6 separate regions of the Homo sapiens genome follow, and regions 1, 3, 4, 5 and 6 are each linked to region 2. The links are contacts of gene promoters, found by promoter capture Hi-C in blood cells and fetal thymus (Javierre and others, 2016). All regions are on one chromosome and are shown on one strand. Each heading gives the region's core, a stretch centred on a gene start or on the middle of the fragment in contact. The rest is flanking DNA. Distances are from core to core; before and after follow the strand shown. Region 1 overlaps KCNQ1 (potassium voltage-gated channel subfamily Q member 1). Region 2 holds the start of CDKN1C (cyclin dependent kinase inhibitor 1C). Region 3 overlaps KCNQ1 (potassium voltage-gated channel subfamily Q member 1). Region 4 overlaps KCNQ1 (potassium voltage-gated channel subfamily Q member 1). Region 5 holds the start of KCNQ1 (potassium voltage-gated channel subfamily Q member 1). Region 6 overlaps KCNQ1 (potassium voltage-gated channel subfamily Q member 1).

Evidence for each region. The method cuts DNA at HindIII sites, captures the fragments that hold promoters and counts their contacts. A CHiCAGO score of 5 or more calls a contact.
Region 1: a fragment that was not itself captured here is called in contact with the fragment with the promoter of CDKN1C in region 2 in 4 of 17 cell types (M1 macrophages, M0 macrophages, erythroblasts and 1 more); the score reaches 6.9 in M1 macrophages.
Region 3: a contact is called between a fragment that was not itself captured here and the fragment with the promoter of CDKN1C in region 2, in 3 of 17 cell types (M0 macrophages, naive CD4 T cells and M1 macrophages). The highest score is 5.3, in M0 macrophages.
Region 4: a contact is called between a fragment that was not itself captured here and the fragment with the promoter of CDKN1C in region 2, in 2 of 17 cell types (erythroblasts and M0 macrophages). The highest score is 7.4, in erythroblasts.
Region 5: the fragment with the promoter of KCNQ1 here is called in contact with the fragment with the promoter of CDKN1C in region 2 in 17 of 17 cell types (neutrophils, M0 macrophages, M1 macrophages and 14 more); the score reaches 15.7 in neutrophils.
Region 6: a fragment that was not itself captured here is called in contact with the fragment with the promoter of CDKN1C in region 2 in 9 of 17 cell types (erythroblasts, M1 macrophages, M0 macrophages and 6 more); the score reaches 10.2 in erythroblasts.

What each region holds. Positions count from the first base shown.
Region 1 is chr11:2,596,381-2,599,080 of GRCh38, reverse strand. The region is part of intron 10 of KCNQ1 (potassium voltage-gated channel subfamily Q member 1); the gene reads right to left. Among named protein-coding and RNA genes, the nearest start is that of KCNQ1OT1, 100 kb to the left of the region's middle. The HindIII fragment of the contact is 572 bases long and covers 1,019-1,590 here.
Region 2 is chr11:2,884,500-2,887,199 of GRCh38, reverse strand. It overlaps CDKN1C (cyclin dependent kinase inhibitor 1C), which reads left to right and starts at 1,425. Exons shown (of 4, transcript NM_001122630.2): 1 at 1,425-1,566; 2 at 1,734-2,530. The coding sequence starts at 1,744. RefSeq lists enhancers at 1-763, 764-1,599, 1,600-2,435. The HindIII fragment of the contact is 9,568 bases long and covers 1-2,700 here.
Region 3 is chr11:2,487,353-2,490,052 of GRCh38, reverse strand. All of the region lies in intron 1 of KCNQ1 (potassium voltage-gated channel subfamily Q member 1), which reads right to left. Among named protein-coding and RNA genes, the nearest start is that of KCNQ1, 44 kb to the right of the region's middle. The HindIII fragment of the contact is 3,569 bases long and covers 1-2,700 here.
Region 4 is chr11:2,572,264-2,574,963 of GRCh38, reverse strand. KCNQ1 (potassium voltage-gated channel subfamily Q member 1) reads right to left here. Exons shown (of 16, transcript NM_000218.3): 6 at 1,978-2,118. Among named protein-coding and RNA genes, the nearest start is that of KCNQ1OT1, 130 kb to the left of the region's middle. The HindIII fragment of the contact is 2,481 bases long and covers 210-2,690 here.
Region 5 is chr11:2,443,578-2,446,289 of GRCh38, reverse strand. It overlaps KCNQ1 (potassium voltage-gated channel subfamily Q member 1), which reads right to left and starts at 1,282. Exons shown (of 16, transcript NM_000218.3): 1 at 806-1,282. The coding sequence starts at 1,191. It overlaps TRPM5 (transient receptor potential cation channel subfamily M member 5), which reads left to right and starts at 1,776. Exons shown (of 29, transcript NM_014555.4): 1 at 1,776-1,859. RefSeq lists silencers at 1,293-1,362, 1,373-1,482. The HindIII fragment of the contact is 13,739 bases long and covers 1-2,712 here.
Region 6 is chr11:2,505,593-2,508,292 of GRCh38, reverse strand. The region is part of intron 1 of KCNQ1 (potassium voltage-gated channel subfamily Q member 1); the gene reads right to left. Among named protein-coding and RNA genes, the nearest start is that of KCNQ1, 62 kb to the right of the region's middle. The HindIII fragment of the contact is 3,057 bases long and covers 1-2,700 here.

The DNA of each region.
Region 1 (2,700 bases), core at 55-2,554, 290 kb after region 2:
CACATCTATTCCATTCTACTCATCTGTAAAGTTAAAGTGTGAATATTGGAAAGTAATACAACATTAAGGACACTAAAAGAAAGAATAGCCCCTATTCAGATCTGGTATTGATAGAGCCTGAGGCCAATTTGGCAGCAGACAGAGACACAAGACTGTTTGCTGCATATGGGTCCTGGGTGAGCACTTACATGTTCTAACTCACTCAGTCAACACAGGAGTCCTGGGAGCAGGCAGTTAGGATCCTGATTTCACAGATGTGGAAACTGAGGCACAGAGAATGCAGTAGCTTGCTTAGGGCCACATAAGAAAATGGCAGAGCTGGGCTATGACCCTAAAGAAGGTTGGCCATATAGGCTGTGCTCCAAACCACTCCATGAAACCTGCCACTCAATTTTTAGAAACATAATTGTACAGGAAGATTTAATTTTCCTGTCTCAGAATTTGGCAGATGTATTAGGGTTTTTTTTTTTTAACTAAGGGCAGAGCAGACCTAAATGAGGCAATGAATAAGTATGTATACACAATCCATCTCAATGTACATTTTGTCTGTCCATGTATACAAATAAAACTTTGTGTTATACAAATACAGAAGATATTTTCTGAGGTCTGTGGAGCATTTACAAAAATAATGATGTTATTTTCATACTTGGAGACAAAGAAAATCTTCATTTTAAAAAAAGTGGAGACTTCATAGGCTACATCCTTTCACTGTAAGCCTACTAAATTAGAAATAAATAACAGTGATAAAAATTTACTGCTTAAAAATTAAGAAGACATTAAAAGAACTCTAAAGAGAAAAATCAAAACACAAAATTAAAACTATCAAGAAAGCAATGAAAAGGAACATATTTCATAATCAGATCTACGTGTCACAGCTAAAGCTGCAATCAGAGGAAAATTTATAGCCTTTAAAAATGCCTTTAGTAGAAGAACTTCAAATAAATGAACTATGACTCTTAAGTAAAAGAAAACAAAAATAGAGTTAGCCAAGAAAAGGGAATTAATAGCTATAAAAGCTTAGATTAATGAAATAGATAACAAAGAGTACAAAGATAGTTTTCTGATAATAAAATATAAATAAAACATAAATTTCTCATGTGCTTGATTAAGAAAAAAGGAGAAAAACCACAAAAGTTCAGGCATAAAGGAAAAGAAAAACGAAGAGATGATAGAGAAGACCATAAAATCACTAAAGGAAAAAATCAGTTGCTACCAAGTGGCAACACAATTGAAATGCTTGAGGAAATTAAATAGCAATGAATAAATTACTCCAAAAGATGCAATAAACTAATTTAGAACAACATATCATAAAACAGACTAAAAAGAAATTACTAAAGATATCCTATAAAACATGTATCAGGCCCAGATGGTTTTACAACTCAATTCTATTTAACCTCTACAGAAAAGATAATCCCAATGTTCTTCAAACAGTTCCAAGACACAGAACAAGGAAGGTAGATAAAACTTTGTTTTGTAAACCATTGTATTTGCCCCCACATGATGGCAGATTTCATACTCTTCTGAAAGATGTACTGTTATTTCTAGGATCAGATATCAGGGATGTCCTGCATCAGTGATGAGAGTGAAGCTTCACAGTTTTGATGGCTGTTTAACGGAGATATGATACTTGAAGCAGACCTCCACTGATGGGTATGTCGGTGGTTTGCAATTTTTTGCTATTTAACAATTGCAGAAATCAATATCCTGATGATGGATTATTTTGCAAATGTGTAAGATATGTGTAGAATAAATTTCTAGAATGATTCAAAGGCATATGCATCTTTAATTTTGATTGAAATTGCCTTATTTATCTCCACAGAGGTTTGTATCAATTTATTTTTCTAACATCAATGACTGAGACTGAGAGTTTCCATGTACACATACCCATAGAGTGTTATCAAACTCTTTGATATTTAATAATCAGATAAGTTTCAAAAACCCCATTGCTTTAGTTTGCATTTCTCTTGTCATAATTGAAGTCATCCAGCATATTTTCATTCTTAAGAATTATTGGTATTTCCTTTTCTGTGAACTGTTTTAATATCCTTTAACTTCTATCTTGATTTACAAGAGCGTTTTTATATAGCAATTAAATTAGCCCCATGCCTATAGGTGAGTGGCAACTGGTTTCTTTAGGTTATCAATAAAAAATTATTTTCAGTATGTTTTTTTGCTATGCAAAATATATATTATATATTTACATTATATATTATAAACAGTTTTATTGAGATATAATTGACATAACTTGCTTATGTTTAAAGTGTGCAATTTGGTAACTTTTGACACATGATGAAACCATCGCCATGATTATGATAATGAACATATCCACTGCCCCAAAAGTTTTTTTGTGCCCTTTTGTCCTTTTCCCTCCTACTACTACCCCTGATCCCCAGGTAACCACTGATAACCACTGACTTGTTTGTCACTCTATATTAGTGGTCATTTTCTAGATTTTTACATAAATAAGATACCATGTACTCTTTTTTTTTTTGTCTGGCTTCTTTCACTCACCATAATTATGTTGCAATGTATCCATATTGTAGGCATATCAGTGGTTCATTCCTTTGTATTTCTAAGTAGTATTCCATTTTAGGAATATACTACAACTTTGAAAAAAATCTATTCAAATGTTGATGGGTATTTGGGTTGCTTCCAGTTTGGGGTTTCCAGTTTTTATAAAGCTGCTATGAATATTCCATG
Region 2 (2,700 bases), core at 176-2,675:
CAGCTGCACACTGCCACAGCATTCCATGGGGGTGGGGGTGTCTTGGGACTCAAAGGCAGGCTGGTTGGGGTTCAGGGGACCGCACCTTCCCTCCCTCCCAGAGGTCTCTCTGCTGGCTCACAGGCTCACCTGAGATAGGGGCTTAGATCTCATGGGCTGCTGGACCCTCCAACAGGTGTCTGACAGTCCCCATCCCGATCTGGGAGGCTCCTGGTTTGAGGAGGGGGCTCCCTGCCTCATGGTAGGTGGGCCAAAAGGGAGGCAGCAGGAAATAATGGTCTCTTTTGGTCTGGCCTGGCTGGGGTGAAGCACCGTGTGTGTGCGTGCGTGTGTGTGTGTGTGTGTGTGTGCGTGCGCGCACGACCGAGGTCTGTACCAGGAAGGGCTGCAGGCGGGGGAGGGGCATGGTCCTTCACAGCCCCTTCCCCTATGACCTCGGGCAGATCTTTCACTTTTACCCAGTACAACAGCTTCCAGCCAGCCTGGACAGGCAGATCCCGGGGCTGGAGTGGTCTGGCCCAAGGCTGAGAAGGGCTGGGACCCCCGACAGTGACATGATGGGCTCAGCCCCTGTTCCATCTACTGGGCAGGGTGGGCCTCCGCAGATAGCGGCTTCAGACTCCAGCTCCAGGGGGCTGGTGGGAGTCTCTCAAGGTGTCCCACACATGGTCCCTCGGGGAAAGAGTGGAGCTGACCCCTGTCCCCCCTCCCGACTCGAGGGCCTTAGGGCCAGCAGGTGTGTGAGGGCTCCAGGCGCGCGGAGCCCTCGAAGGGACACCAGCCCAGCAGCAGCAGGCCGCGCGGGGGCAGCCGAAGACCCCATCCGGCGCAGGCCAGGGCCGAGCTGGCAGCGGCGGGTCCAAGCCTCGTCAGCTGGCGCAGGAGGCCCACGGGCGAGCGCGGGACGGAGCTGGGCGCCGGGGTCCGGACCGGGCCGGGGTCGAGTTGGGCCTGGCCGGACACCGGACCCGCCAGGAGCCGGCCCCTGCCGCGCTGGGCTGAGGCCCCCGCCTGCAGACAAAGGAGCCGGCGGGGGGCGGGAGCCGGGGGGGTGGGGGAGTGTTGCAGGGGGGATGGGGCGAGGGGGCGGGCGTCGCGGTGTCACGTTACCGCCCGCAGCGCCCTTTAACTCCCGCCCCCGCCCCGCTCACCGCCCCCTTCCCCTGCTACAGCGCGCTCGCCCCGCGGCCGCCAATCAGCCGCGCGCCCCGGCCGCGCGCCCCGCCCCGCCCCCGGTGGGTGTGCGCGCGGCCAATGGGCGGTGCGCGGGGGCCGGGCCGCGGCGGGGCGGGGCAGCGGGGCGGCCGCCAATCGCCGTGGTGTTGTTGAAACTGAAAATACTACATTATGCTAATCGCGGCCGGGCCCGCGCGCACGGGGGTGGGGCCCGCGCGTATAAAGGGGGCGCAGGCGGGCTGGGCGTTCCACAGGCCAAGTGCGCTGTGCTCGAGGGGTGCCGGCCAGGCCTGAGCGAGCGAGCTAGCCAGCAGGCATCGAGGGGGCGCGGCTGCCGTCCGGACGAGACAGGCGAACCCGACGCAGAAGAGTCCACCACCGGACAGCCAGGTAGCCGCCGCGTCCCTCGCACACGCAGAGTCGGGCGGCGCGGGGTCTCCCTTGCGCCCGGCCTCCGCCCTCTCCTCCTCTCCTTTCCCCTTCTTCTCGCTGTCCTCTCCTCTCTCGCTGCCCGCGTTTGCGCAGCCCCGGGCCATGTCCGACGCGTCCCTCCGCAGCACATCCACGATGGAGCGTCTTGTCGCCCGTGGGACCTTCCCAGTACTAGTGCGCACCAGCGCCTGCCGCAGCCTCTTCGGGCCGGTGGACCACGAGGAGCTGAGCCGCGAGCTGCAGGCCCGCCTGGCCGAGCTGAACGCCGAGGACCAGAACCGCTGGGATTACGACTTCCAGCAGGACATGCCGCTGCGGGGCCCTGGACGCCTGCAGTGGACCGAAGTGGACAGCGACTCGGTGCCCGCGTTCTACCGCGAGACGGTGCAGGTGGGGCGCTGCCGCCTGCTGCTGGCGCCGCGGCCCGTCGCGGTCGCGGTGGCTGTCAGCCCGCCCCTCGAGCCGGCCGCTGAGTCCCTCGACGGCCTCGAGGAGGCGCCGGAGCAGCTGCCTAGTGTCCCGGTCCCGGCCCCGGCGTCCACCCCGCCCCCAGTCCCGGTCCTGGCTCCAGCCCCGGCCCCGGCTCCGGCTCCGGTCGCGGCTCCGGTCGCGGCTCCGGTCGCGGTCGCGGTCCTGGCCCCGGCCCCGGCCCCGGCTCCGGCTCCGGCTCCGGCCCCGGCTCCAGTCGCGGCCCCGGCCCCAGCCCCGGCCCCGGCCCCGGCCCCGGCCCCCGCCCCGGCCCCGGCCCCGGACGCGGCGCCTCAAGAGAGCGCCGAGCAGGGCGCGAACCAGGGGCAGCGCGGCCAGGAGCCTCTCGCTGACCAGCTGCACTCGGGGATTTCGGGACGTCCCGCGGCCGGCACCGCGGCCGCCAGCGCCAACGGCGCGGCGATCAAGAAGCTGTCCGGGCCTCTGATCTCCGGTGAGCCCCGCACGGCCCCGCCCCGGCCCGGCCCGGCCCCGCTTTGTCCGGCCGGCCGGTCCCCCCAGCCCTCGGGGGCCTCGCTGGGTTCCCGCCTCCTCCCGTGGCATTAAAGGGCCCGCAGCGCTCAGGGCGCGGCTGCGCCCTTACCCCCCTCCCCGCCCCGTTGT
Region 3 (2,700 bases), core at 54-2,553, 400 kb after region 2:
ACCTTTCAGGTCAGTGGGCTCCCTTCTGGCCTAGAGCAGGTCCAGAAATGCTGTCCAAGAGCCAAGGCCTGGAATCAGGGACCCCAAGAGCCCATTTGGTGCTCTACCCCACTGTGGTCAAGCTGGTACCTGAAGCCAGTATATTTCAGAATCTCATTCAAGGCCCACAGGATACTACCTGGCACTGCTGGTTGTTCAGGGTCCAAGGGCTCTTTAGTCAGCTGATGATGAATTCTGACAAGACTAGGTCCTTCCCTCCAAGGCAGTGGATTCCCTTCTGGCCCAGGGTGTGTCTGGAAATGTCCAAGAGCCAGGGCCTGAAATGTGTGCCCATTGACTCTGCCCAGTGTCCTCTCCTACTGTGGTTGAGCTGGTATCCAAGATGCAAGACAATGTTCTCTTTACTGCTCCATCTCCTCTCTTTAAGCAGAGGAAAAGAGTCACTTTTGTTTCTGTGAGCTGTGCTGCCTGGGGTTAGCCACCCTGGCTGGTGTCTCACTAGGTTGTGTGCCCCCCACATCCACTGGCTCTGAGCCCATCTCAGCAATAGGACTTGCCTAGGAATTGCAGTTATTGTGGCCTAGACTGCCTTACAAGTTTATTTAGAACCCCAGAGCACTTTAGCCCGTGGTGGCAAGGTTTTCTGGAACTCAGTTTCTGACCCCTGAGATATGTGATTCCCCTCTGGCTAGGGCTGGTTTAAATGCTCCCTCTGTGCTGGGTGTGGGCTGAATTTAGCCTGGTTCTGCTTTCTGTGGCAACAGGGAATCACTGAGCTCGATGGACAGTCCCAAAGCACTGCACTTTCCCTCCCCCAAGCTCTCAGATTCTCTCTCCATGCCACATAGCTGGGGGATGGGAGGCACAGTGCTGTCAGTGATTCAGTACTGTCTCTCTTGCCCTCTTCAGTGCCTCTTCCAGCAATATAAAGTTAAAAGCAGATACTGTGATTGCTTATCTGAATTTTGGTTCTTATGAAGGTGCTTTTTTGTGTAGATAGTTCTCAAATTTGGTGTTCCTGTTGGGGAGGACAATTGGAGGCTTCTATTTGGCCATCTTGCTCCACTCCCTCCCTATAAATTGTTACATTAATAAACAAGAAAGATCTCCAGTAAATAACCTAACTTTACCACTTAAGGAACTAGCAAAAGAACTAAACCCAAAGCTAGCAGAAGAAAGAAGATAATAAATACCACAGCAGAGACCAACAAAATAGAGAATAGAAAAACAATAGAGAAAAATCAATTAAATCAAAGTTGCTTCTCTGAAAAGATTTTAAGAATTGACAAACCTTTAGCTAGATGGACTAAGTAAAAAAGAGAGAAGACTACTGAAATCAGAAGTGAAAATAGGGACATGACTATCAATTCTACAGAAATAAAAAGGATTATAAGAGAGTATTGTGAACAATTGTGTATCAACAAATTGGATAACCTAGATGAAATGGACAAATTCTGAGAAACACGAAACCTACCAAAACTAAATCACAAAGAAATACAAAATCTTCATGGACCTATAACTAGTGAGGAGATTGAATCAGTAATCAAAAAACTCTCAACAAAGAAAAGCCTGGACCTGATGGCTTCCCCAATGAATCCTACCAAATATTTAAAGAATAAACTCCCATCCTTCTCAATCTTTCCCAAAAAATTAAAGAGGAGGGGAAAGGTTTCTAACTCATTCTATGAGGAGAGCATTACTCTGATACTAAAGCCAGACAAAGACTACAAGAAAACTACAGACCAATATCCCTTATGAAAACTGATGCAAAATTCTCAACAAAATAGCAAACTGAGTTCAGAAACATAGTTAAAGTATTACATATCATGACCATGTGAGATTTAGTCCTGGAATGCAAGGATGGTTCAACATACAAAAATAAATCCATGTAAAAGAGCATATTAACAGAATGAAGAAATAACACTCACATGATCACATGATCTCAATTGATACAAAAAGCATTTGACAAAATTCAACATCCTTATTAAAAACTCTCAACAAACTAGGAATAGAAGGAAACTACCTTAACATAATAAAAACCATATGTGAAAATCCACAGCTAACATCATAATGATGAGACTGAAATTTTTCCCTCTAAGGTCAGGAATAAGGCCAGGGTGACCACTTTCACCACTTCTATTCAACATTGTACTGAAAATTCTAGCCAGAGCAATTTGGCAAGAAAAAAATTAAAAGAAATAAAAGGCATCCAGAATGGAAAAAAAAGACGTAAAACTATTTCTATTCACAGATAACATAATCTCATATGTAGAAACCCCTAAAGATTCCACAAAAACTTATTAGAGCTAATAAATGAAGTCAGCAAAGTTACAGAATCTAAGGTAAACATGCAAAATCAGTTGCATTTCTATATGCTAACAATGAACAATCTAAAAATGAAATTAAGAAAACAATTTAATTTATAATAGCATCAAGTAGAATACTTAGGAATTAACTTAACCAAGGAGGTAAAAGACTTCTGCAGCAAAACCCACAAAACATTACTGAAAGAAACTTAAAAAGATGCAAATAAATGGAAACATATCCCATGTTCATGGATTAGAAGACAATGTTGAGATATCAATACTACCCAAAGTGATTTATAGATTCAGTGCAATCCCTCTCAAAATCCCAATGACACTTTTTGCAAAAATAGAAAAACCCATCCTAAAATTCATATGGAATCTCAAGGAACTTAAA
Region 4 (2,700 bases), core at 201-2,700, 310 kb after region 2:
CGCCCTACCCATCCACACTCACTGCAGGCAGGCTCCCGCAGGGGGGCTGGGCCCTGCTGCCCAAACCTGCTCAGGCCTGCCACACTGGGGCCTTCGGGGACACAGGCCCCCAGGAAGGCGGGAAGAGGCCGAAAGTGGGGCCTGCCCCAACCCAGGAGCTGTGTCAGCATGCCCCTGCCATCCCTGAGCATTGCAGCACTTTGGAAGCTTCCAGAAAACCTGCTGACTTGGCCTACGTCAGGAGCCACTGCTGAGTGTCTGGCCTCATGGGGGAAGCGGCGGTTGAGGGGGAGGGAGGAGGCACAGCAATCGCAGGGACACGTGCCTGCCTGGGGAGCCACCGGGAGGCTTCTCACCCCACCCAGATATGCTCTGATGGTGGTGGGGGGTCCCGAGAGCCAGCAAGTCCGGTCCTTTCTGGAAGGAGGACTCGGGGCAGACGGACTGGGTCCTGGCACCACCACGTGTTTCCCACGGCTGCCCTGCCCGCCCCCACCTCCAGCCCCCGTGCGGCCCCCAGGCCTTGGCTCCCACCCTGTGTGGGCTTCGACGGCCTCCTCCCCAGCCCCCAGCCCCTGTTGCTACCACGATTCCATCTAACCTGTTATCGGACTGAGTGAGCCCGGAGGTCGGTAGACAAGGGCAGACGCGGGGGCAGGCTTGTGGCGGCAGAGTAGGGGTCACCCTGTCACCTCGGCACTTGGGCTTCTCGGTCCCCACCCAGGGCCACTCCCCAAGGTGTGATGGTGCCACCCTGGGCCTTAGTGGCCTGTGGACGGCCCACCTGGCCCTGCAGCTGTGGGGGGAGATGGGATGGAGTCATTCCCTCCCTGCACTCTGGCCTCCAGCCAGCTACTCCCCTCGGGGTACCCACGTGTTCCCCCTAGAAGCAGCCCTTGAGCTCCATGCATATATAAACGCCGACTTTCACTGGAGGATTTGAAGGCAGCCACCAGCTCCCAGAGGGACACTGGCAAGCTAGGCCTGCCCCCTAAAAATGCCTCAGCCAGCGTCCTCTGAGCCATGAGAAACTGCTGCTGGGCCCACAGGCCAGTGACTTGGGACTTGGGGAGCCTGCAGCTCGGAGGGCGCACCCTGATTCCTGCAGCTGCATCCTCATCGGAACATCTCCCTCTCCCACGTGCAAGCCTGAGTCCCTCAAGGAAGCCCCCACAGACACGGCCCAAGACACCCTGCCCCACCCCTCCCGCACAGCCTCTCTGAGCTTTGGGTGGCTCGGTGTTCCAGTGCGGGATCTGCCTGCTGCACACCGGCTTCCCCAAGGCTCCCGGGCTGCTCTAGGTGGCCGGAACCCACCTTCACAGCCAGGGGCAGCCTCTGGGCCCACAGGCCGGGTCCCTGCTTCCCTAGGCCCAGCTGCACCTATGTCGCCACTGCCCAGGCCCGGCTCCAGAACTTGCAGGCCCAGCATCCACTGGAAACACGGGGGCTCTCTGATCTCTGCTGGGGTCTCTTGAGCCATCATGGTCTTTCCTGTTTGCTGTCTCATGTCTGGCTCCTTGGGGACAGGGGCACTTACAGGGCCTGTGTGGACCCTCAGAGACACGCGAGGTATGCATCTGACGCCGCTCTCCTTGGGCCCTGCCAGGGTGAGGGCCACGGTGGAGGCAGGGAATGGGCAACCTAGGACGATGGCGGGAGGCAGAGCCATGGGGGAGCCGAAACCGCTAAGCCCCCAACACACGCTCCAGTGACCCCTCCGATTTCCCTCTCAAATCTCAAGTTCAAGGATGAGACCATTCAGAACTTCAAGATGGTGATGCCAAAGGACTCAACACTGAGCGTGGGGACCTGTGCCAGCGGCTCCAAGCACAGGTTTGTGGACAGAGGCCTGTGAGCGTGCAGGTGAGAAGCCCCTGCCAAGGCCCGAAGTCTCAAGACACCAGTGCCCAGATGTCCTGCCCACTCCTCAGCCTGAGCTGCCCCTGTCCCCATGCCTGGAAGTTTCCGACTTACCACCCCCCACCACAGCGCATCTGCGTAGCTGCCGAACTCCACGCGGCCTGACTCGTTCACCGCGTCCTTCTCAGCCAGGTACACAAAGTACGAGGAGAAGATGAGGCCCAGGAAGCCGATGTACAGGGTGGTTATCAGCTCCTAGGCCAGAAAACACACAGTGTCGGGCTCCAGGAACCGCAGGCTGGGAGCCTCCTGTGCAGACGCCTAAGGCAGCGAGTCCCAGCGATCACTGGGCGTCCTACGCCGCTCCAGCGCGGTTCACATGCACAGGGCCGGCTTCAATATAGCCCACTCCTCACAACTCCGGTAAGTGGCGGGTGGGGGTTACCCCCAGAATGAGGCTCAGCCCTGGGGTCGCCCTAGGCCCACTGTCTGGGCCGGCGCGGGCTCCACTGATTGCCCAGCTCTCTTTCCTGCCACGTGACAGAACCAAGAATGGACCAGGACCCAGGAGATCCTCAGGGAGAGGAAGGGTCCCCTCACCCCACAGAGCCAGGGGCCAGTGCAGCCTGAACCCATCTGAGTGCAGCCCTCGGGAGGGAGTCTGGTGGCCCTGCCTTGACCGGGTCCTTGATTTGCCTGGGTTTTTCATTTCTGACTTTCTGTCTTCATTTGCCCCCAGCTCAGAGGAAGGTGAGCACACCATCAGCCTGGCAGGCCAGGGTCACTGGCACCAGGCTGGGGTGGAGCATCCAGGCTGGGCTCAAGCTTGGGCTTGCT
Region 5 (2,712 bases), core at 33-2,532, 440 kb after region 2:
AGGCAGGCATGGAGGAGAGCAGCCTGGACCTTCCCGGAGGTGACTTCCCAGGCCTGTCCCTGAGAAATCCAGTGCCCAGCCCTGCTCAGGCACGCTGTACCGGGAATTGGAACCACCTGGTAACAGGGGGGCCAGGTGCCTCTGCTACCAGCGCTGCTTTCTCCGGGAGCACAGCTGCCTCTTAGTGAGAGCTGCAAACGTGCCTCTCCGCTCTCTGCATCAAGCCAGGTTTTCATGAGCTTGGTTCAATTAGTTAATGTGGGGCCCGTGGGGACGGCCCGTGGCATGCTGAGCCCTCAGGGAGCACCGCCACCGTCACCTTCCTATCCTGGACAGCCCCCTGCCCCAGAGTCCACCTGGGCCTCAGGGGGTCTGAGATGCGGCACCGGACATCAGGGGCCTTCTCTCTTGGGGGCTCCTGAGCCTCGAGTCTCAGCCGACCTTGAGGAGTTATCTTACTGCACCCAAGGGTGCGCTCCCCAGCACGCTTCTCTTCCCAGAAGGATTCACACCTGGACTACCCTCCCGGAGGTGTGGAGCCAAATTCTGGGCTCCAGGTGGTCCCCTCCCCAGCCGGCTCCCTCCCCACGCCGGGCCTGCGAGAAGATGCGCACCCCCAGACACAGCAGCGCCTCTGAACTTCAAGGGAGAGTGCAGAGTTTGTGTTTCTGCGTTTCCCCACTTCCTTCCCTCCTCTGCTCCGGGGTCGCAGCTCCGACGGGGCAGGTGGCGCTGGGACAGAGCTCCCCCACACCAGCTCTCAGGAAGCACCTTCGTGCCGGCCGTCGCCGGTGGCGATACTCACACGGCGAAGTGGTAAACGAAGCATTTCCAGCCGGTGGGACGCTCGAGGAAGTTGTAGACGCGGCCCTGGACGTGGGTGCGCGCCAACACCGGGCGGCGCGTGCTGTAGATGGAGACGCGCGGGTCTAGGCTCACCGGCGGCCGCGGGCCAAGGTCGGAGGCAACTGGGGGCGCGGCGGGCGCGGCCGGGGACGCAGGGGGCGCGGGACCTGGGGCGCCGGGCGCGATGGGCGCGTAGAGCGCGCCGCCCGCCGGGCCGCCCTCCGCCAGCTCCAGCGAGAAGGGGCACTTCTTGGCCAGGCCCGCGCTGCCCCGCCGGGCGCCTGGCAGGCGGCCCCAACCCCAGCGCTTCCTCTCGGCCCTGGGCGGGGAGGAGGCCGCGGCCATAACGAGGAGGGCCTGCCGGGGGGCCGGCCCGAGCGGCGGCACCGGGAGCTGCAGCGAAGGCGAGCGCCCGGGCGCAGTGCGGGCAGCCACTGCTGCCAGCCCCGCCGCGGGGGGCCGCTGCCGGCCCAGCCCGGGCGCTCGGGGCGGGGCCGGAGGGGGCAGTGGCCGAGGGCCGGTCCCATGGGACGGCGTGCCCCGCCCCCGCCTGCACGCCCCGCCCCCGCCGGTCCGGCGCGCACAGGGCGTCCCTGCCCGCGCCCACCGGCTTGGCCCGCCCTCTCCCCACGGACCGGCCTGGCCCTGCCTCCGCCTCACCCCCTGGCTTGGCCTGTCCGCGCCCCCGCCCCCGCCTGCGCCCCCGCCCCCACCCCCACCCCCGCCCGAGCCCACCTGCTTAGCCCCGCTCGTGTCATCTATCCCGCTTGGCCCCGCCCCCTCCTCGCCCACCTGTTTGGCCCCGTTCCAGTGTGCATTTACCCCGCCTGGCCCCGCCCCCTCCCCGCCCACCTGCTTGGCCCCGCCCTCACCCACCTGCTTGGCCCCGCCCCGTCTGCATCTCCCCTGCTTGCTCCTGCCCTGCCCTCACCCACCTGCTTGGCCCCCACTTCTGATGCCCGCCTGCTCTGCCTGGCCCGGAGGAGGACCCCAGCTGCGCCAGGGAGGAAGGGGTAAGGCCTGGCCGATACCACGACCGAGAACGGCACAGCGGGGGCAGGAGGGGCGGGGTAGGGTGCCGGCATCTACTTTCCCTCCCTCTGAGCCACTCCGGAGTTGGGGTTGGGGGGAGGAAAGGGATGTCCTGGGTGAGGGTGTGCTGGCCCCGCGATCACTGTGAGCGCCCCCGGGTGCCCAGGCGCGCGAGCTGCGGGCGGCGAATACGCTCGGGTCGCTTCCCACCAGGGCCCTTGGACCGGGAGGGTGAGATGGGACCACCACTGTCAGGTACCTCCCAGTGGGAGCTGTGTGGGTGGGGAGCCGGCAGGGCTGCTGGGGGGTGGGGGCGGCACAGCCGGGGTCTGGACCTGGTTTGACTGCCGGGCATAGCAGGCGGGGCTGCCTGGGCAGTTAAAGGGAGAGGCGCTTGCGCCACCCTAGTAACTTGGAGAATGGGCGCCTTGTCCTCCCCACCGTCGAGACCGCGCTGCCGCTGCGCCCCGTGGATTCCCCTGGGTGGGGGTGGGTTGGTCACATCGGAAGATTTTCACAGGTCTCTGCACTGCCTCCCGCCCGCTACTGGCATTTGGGTCTCAGCACGTCTCAGGCTTGGGGGGGGGGTGGGGGGCAGCCAACAGAAGAGACCGGCTTTTTTCAGGATACTGCACACAGCCCTGAGGCAGGGACTAAAGGTGGAGCTCAGCGGTGACTCTCCGCCCCGCCAGGAGACCCATAACTCATGTGACACTTCCAGGTCGTCCCTGAGCACCCTGGGTCAATTTGATGTATCTACCACCCCCTGCCAAAAGTCTGCTCTTTTATCGTGGACGGAGTCCAGCCCAGGCCCTTGACGCCTGACTCCCCACC
Region 6 (2,700 bases), core at 201-2,700, 380 kb after region 2:
CGGCAAGTCAGACAAGCCAGTATGGTCCCCACAGGAGCCCAAAGACCCTTGGTGACCACCATGGGTTGGTGGAGGTTGTGGTACCTCAAACATGCATGCCTAGTGTTTGCAAACCTCACCTTCAGCAGCAGCATCCCTGGGAAACCCCAGCTCCACTGCCGTGGGGCCAAGGCAACACAGACCCCTGCTGGGGCCCAGGCCAGCTCTGTGGGGCCGAGCTGGGTGTTTGTGTCTGAGAGGTTTCAGGGCAGGGTCCCAGCCTCCATGTACGGGGCTGGGACCCACCAGGACCCAGACTCCCACATACGTGTGTGGAATAAAACTCATAACCCCACATCACCAAGTCAAGGCCAGTTCCAAAACCTCTCAGGAGGGCTCAACACAGAGTCCTTTGTTCTTCCTCCATTGCCCCTGTGGAGGCTGCAGGACACCCAACCTCCCGGACTTGCCTTCCTTGCCCTCAGCCTCCACAGCTGCCATCACTTGGCCCTTGCCCTCTGCCCTTCCACCCACCCAGGCTACAGGAGGCCCTGTCTAGCCCCTGCGCTCATGTCATTTACACACTGACACCTCCCCTAACTTGTGAGCCCAGCCCGCACTCTCTCCCCAGAGCTCCCACCTGCAGGTCTTACTGCCTTCAACCCACCTCACCTGGCTGCCTCACAAACACCTCCAAAATAACATGTCCCCAGCTGGACTCCTTCGCCCCAACCCTGACCCATGTCAGAAACAGAAAGTGCATCCTCCCAGGTGCGAGGGGTCCCAGCAGCATCCTTTTCTCTTCCTCCCGCTGCACCCGCCACCTTATCTACCTGCAAACCCTGTTTTCTACAGCAGTGGTCCTGACTTCTCACCCTTCCTTCAAACCCTCTAGAGCAAACCACGCCGTCCCATCCCACAGCCACCTCAGTCACAGCCTCCTGCGCATCTCGTGTCCTGCCCGATGACCCCACACTCCATGCTCCACTTAGAGGCCAGAGGGGCCTCGTGAAGGCCCCAGCCAGTGGGGTGAACTTCTAAGGAAGAGGTCTCAGGCCACTCTCTGAGAAAAGATTACCTTAGATCATGCACAAGAGCAAACTCCAAACGGACAAGGAGCTAAATGCTGAAGACAAGACCCCAAACCTCCAGAAGAAAACACAGTGGATTCCCCTTAACCTCGGTGGAGGAAAAAGCTCTCAACTGTGGCCCTGAATCCGGAGTCAGTAGAAAGAAGCATGATAAATTTGATGATATAAACATGCGAAATTTCTCATAGCAAAAAGCACCATAAGCAAAGTCAAAGACAAGTGACCAGCTGGGAAAACAATTCACATTAGTCCAGACAAACGTTCCCACAATATAAATGACTTAAAAATTGAGAGACCAAGAACCAAAAACCCAATGGAAGAAGTTGGAAATGAGAAGACAGACGATTTACAAATACACACACACATGACTTTTAGACACAGGGAAAACATTCAAATTCAATGTAATTACAGAAATACAGATTAAAACAAAGCTATGGACCTGGCAAAAAGTGGTGTGACAGCACGCTGCTGGCGCAACTGTAGAAAAAACCGGTATGCTCATGCATTGCTGGGGGAGTGCAAATGTGCAACCGTTCTGCAGGGAAATTTGGTCACATCCAACAAAACTACGGGCTTCTCTTTCAGCCCAACACTCCCATTTCTAGGAATCTACCCTGAAGATAACACCTCCAACAATAGGAACATCCATACCTACGAAGTTATTCTTTGCAACATTGTTTCAAGAATACAATAGACATATGTATAAGGCTATACTTTGCAACATTATTTATCATTGCACAATATCAGAACAACCTAAATGCCCATAAATAGGAGAGGGTTTGAATAAGCATGGCACATCCAACCATAAAGTATGGGGTGGCTGTAAAAAAGAATATGGAAGGACCCCACGAACTGATATGTAGTGGTCTCTAGGAAATACTATTACGTGAGAAAAGCAAATTCAAAAAGTTCACGTATAGTCTTTTCGACAAATGATGGTGGGATAACTGAGTATCTACATGCAAAAGAATAAAGCTGGATATAAAAAATTAACTCAATATGGGTCAAAGGTATAAATGTAAGACCTAAAGCAATAGGAACACATAGGAGAAAATAGAAAGACTTTGGATTTGAGGATGATTTCTTGAATACGACATTGAAGGCACAGGCTCCGGTGAACAGTGCCGCAGTAAACGTAGGAGTGCGCATCTGTCCCTGCTGGACTGATTTTCTTTCTTTTTGGATATATAACTAGCAGTGGGATTGCTGGATCACAGGGGCTAAGCACGTGGACAAATTAAATTTTATGAAAATGTAAAGTCTGTATATCAAAAGGTGATATCGGCAGTGGCAGAATAGATAAACATGATCCAGCTACATGCTGTCTACTAGAGACTCGCGTTAGAGCCAAAGACACAAAAAGATTGAAAGTGAAAGGGTGGAAAGAGTGGAGAAAGAGGTTCCATGCAAATGGCAAACACAAAAAGCAGAGTGGCTACACTAACATCAGCCAAAAATGGTTTTATAATAAACCTAGAAAGGTCACAAGAGACAAAAGAGGACGCTGCACACTTAAAGGTTCGAGGCTGCAAGAAGATGTTACAGATAACCATTATAAACATTTATGCCTCTAACAGCTAACGATCAAAAGACACAAAGGAAAAATTTACAGAACCGAAGGGAGAAATAG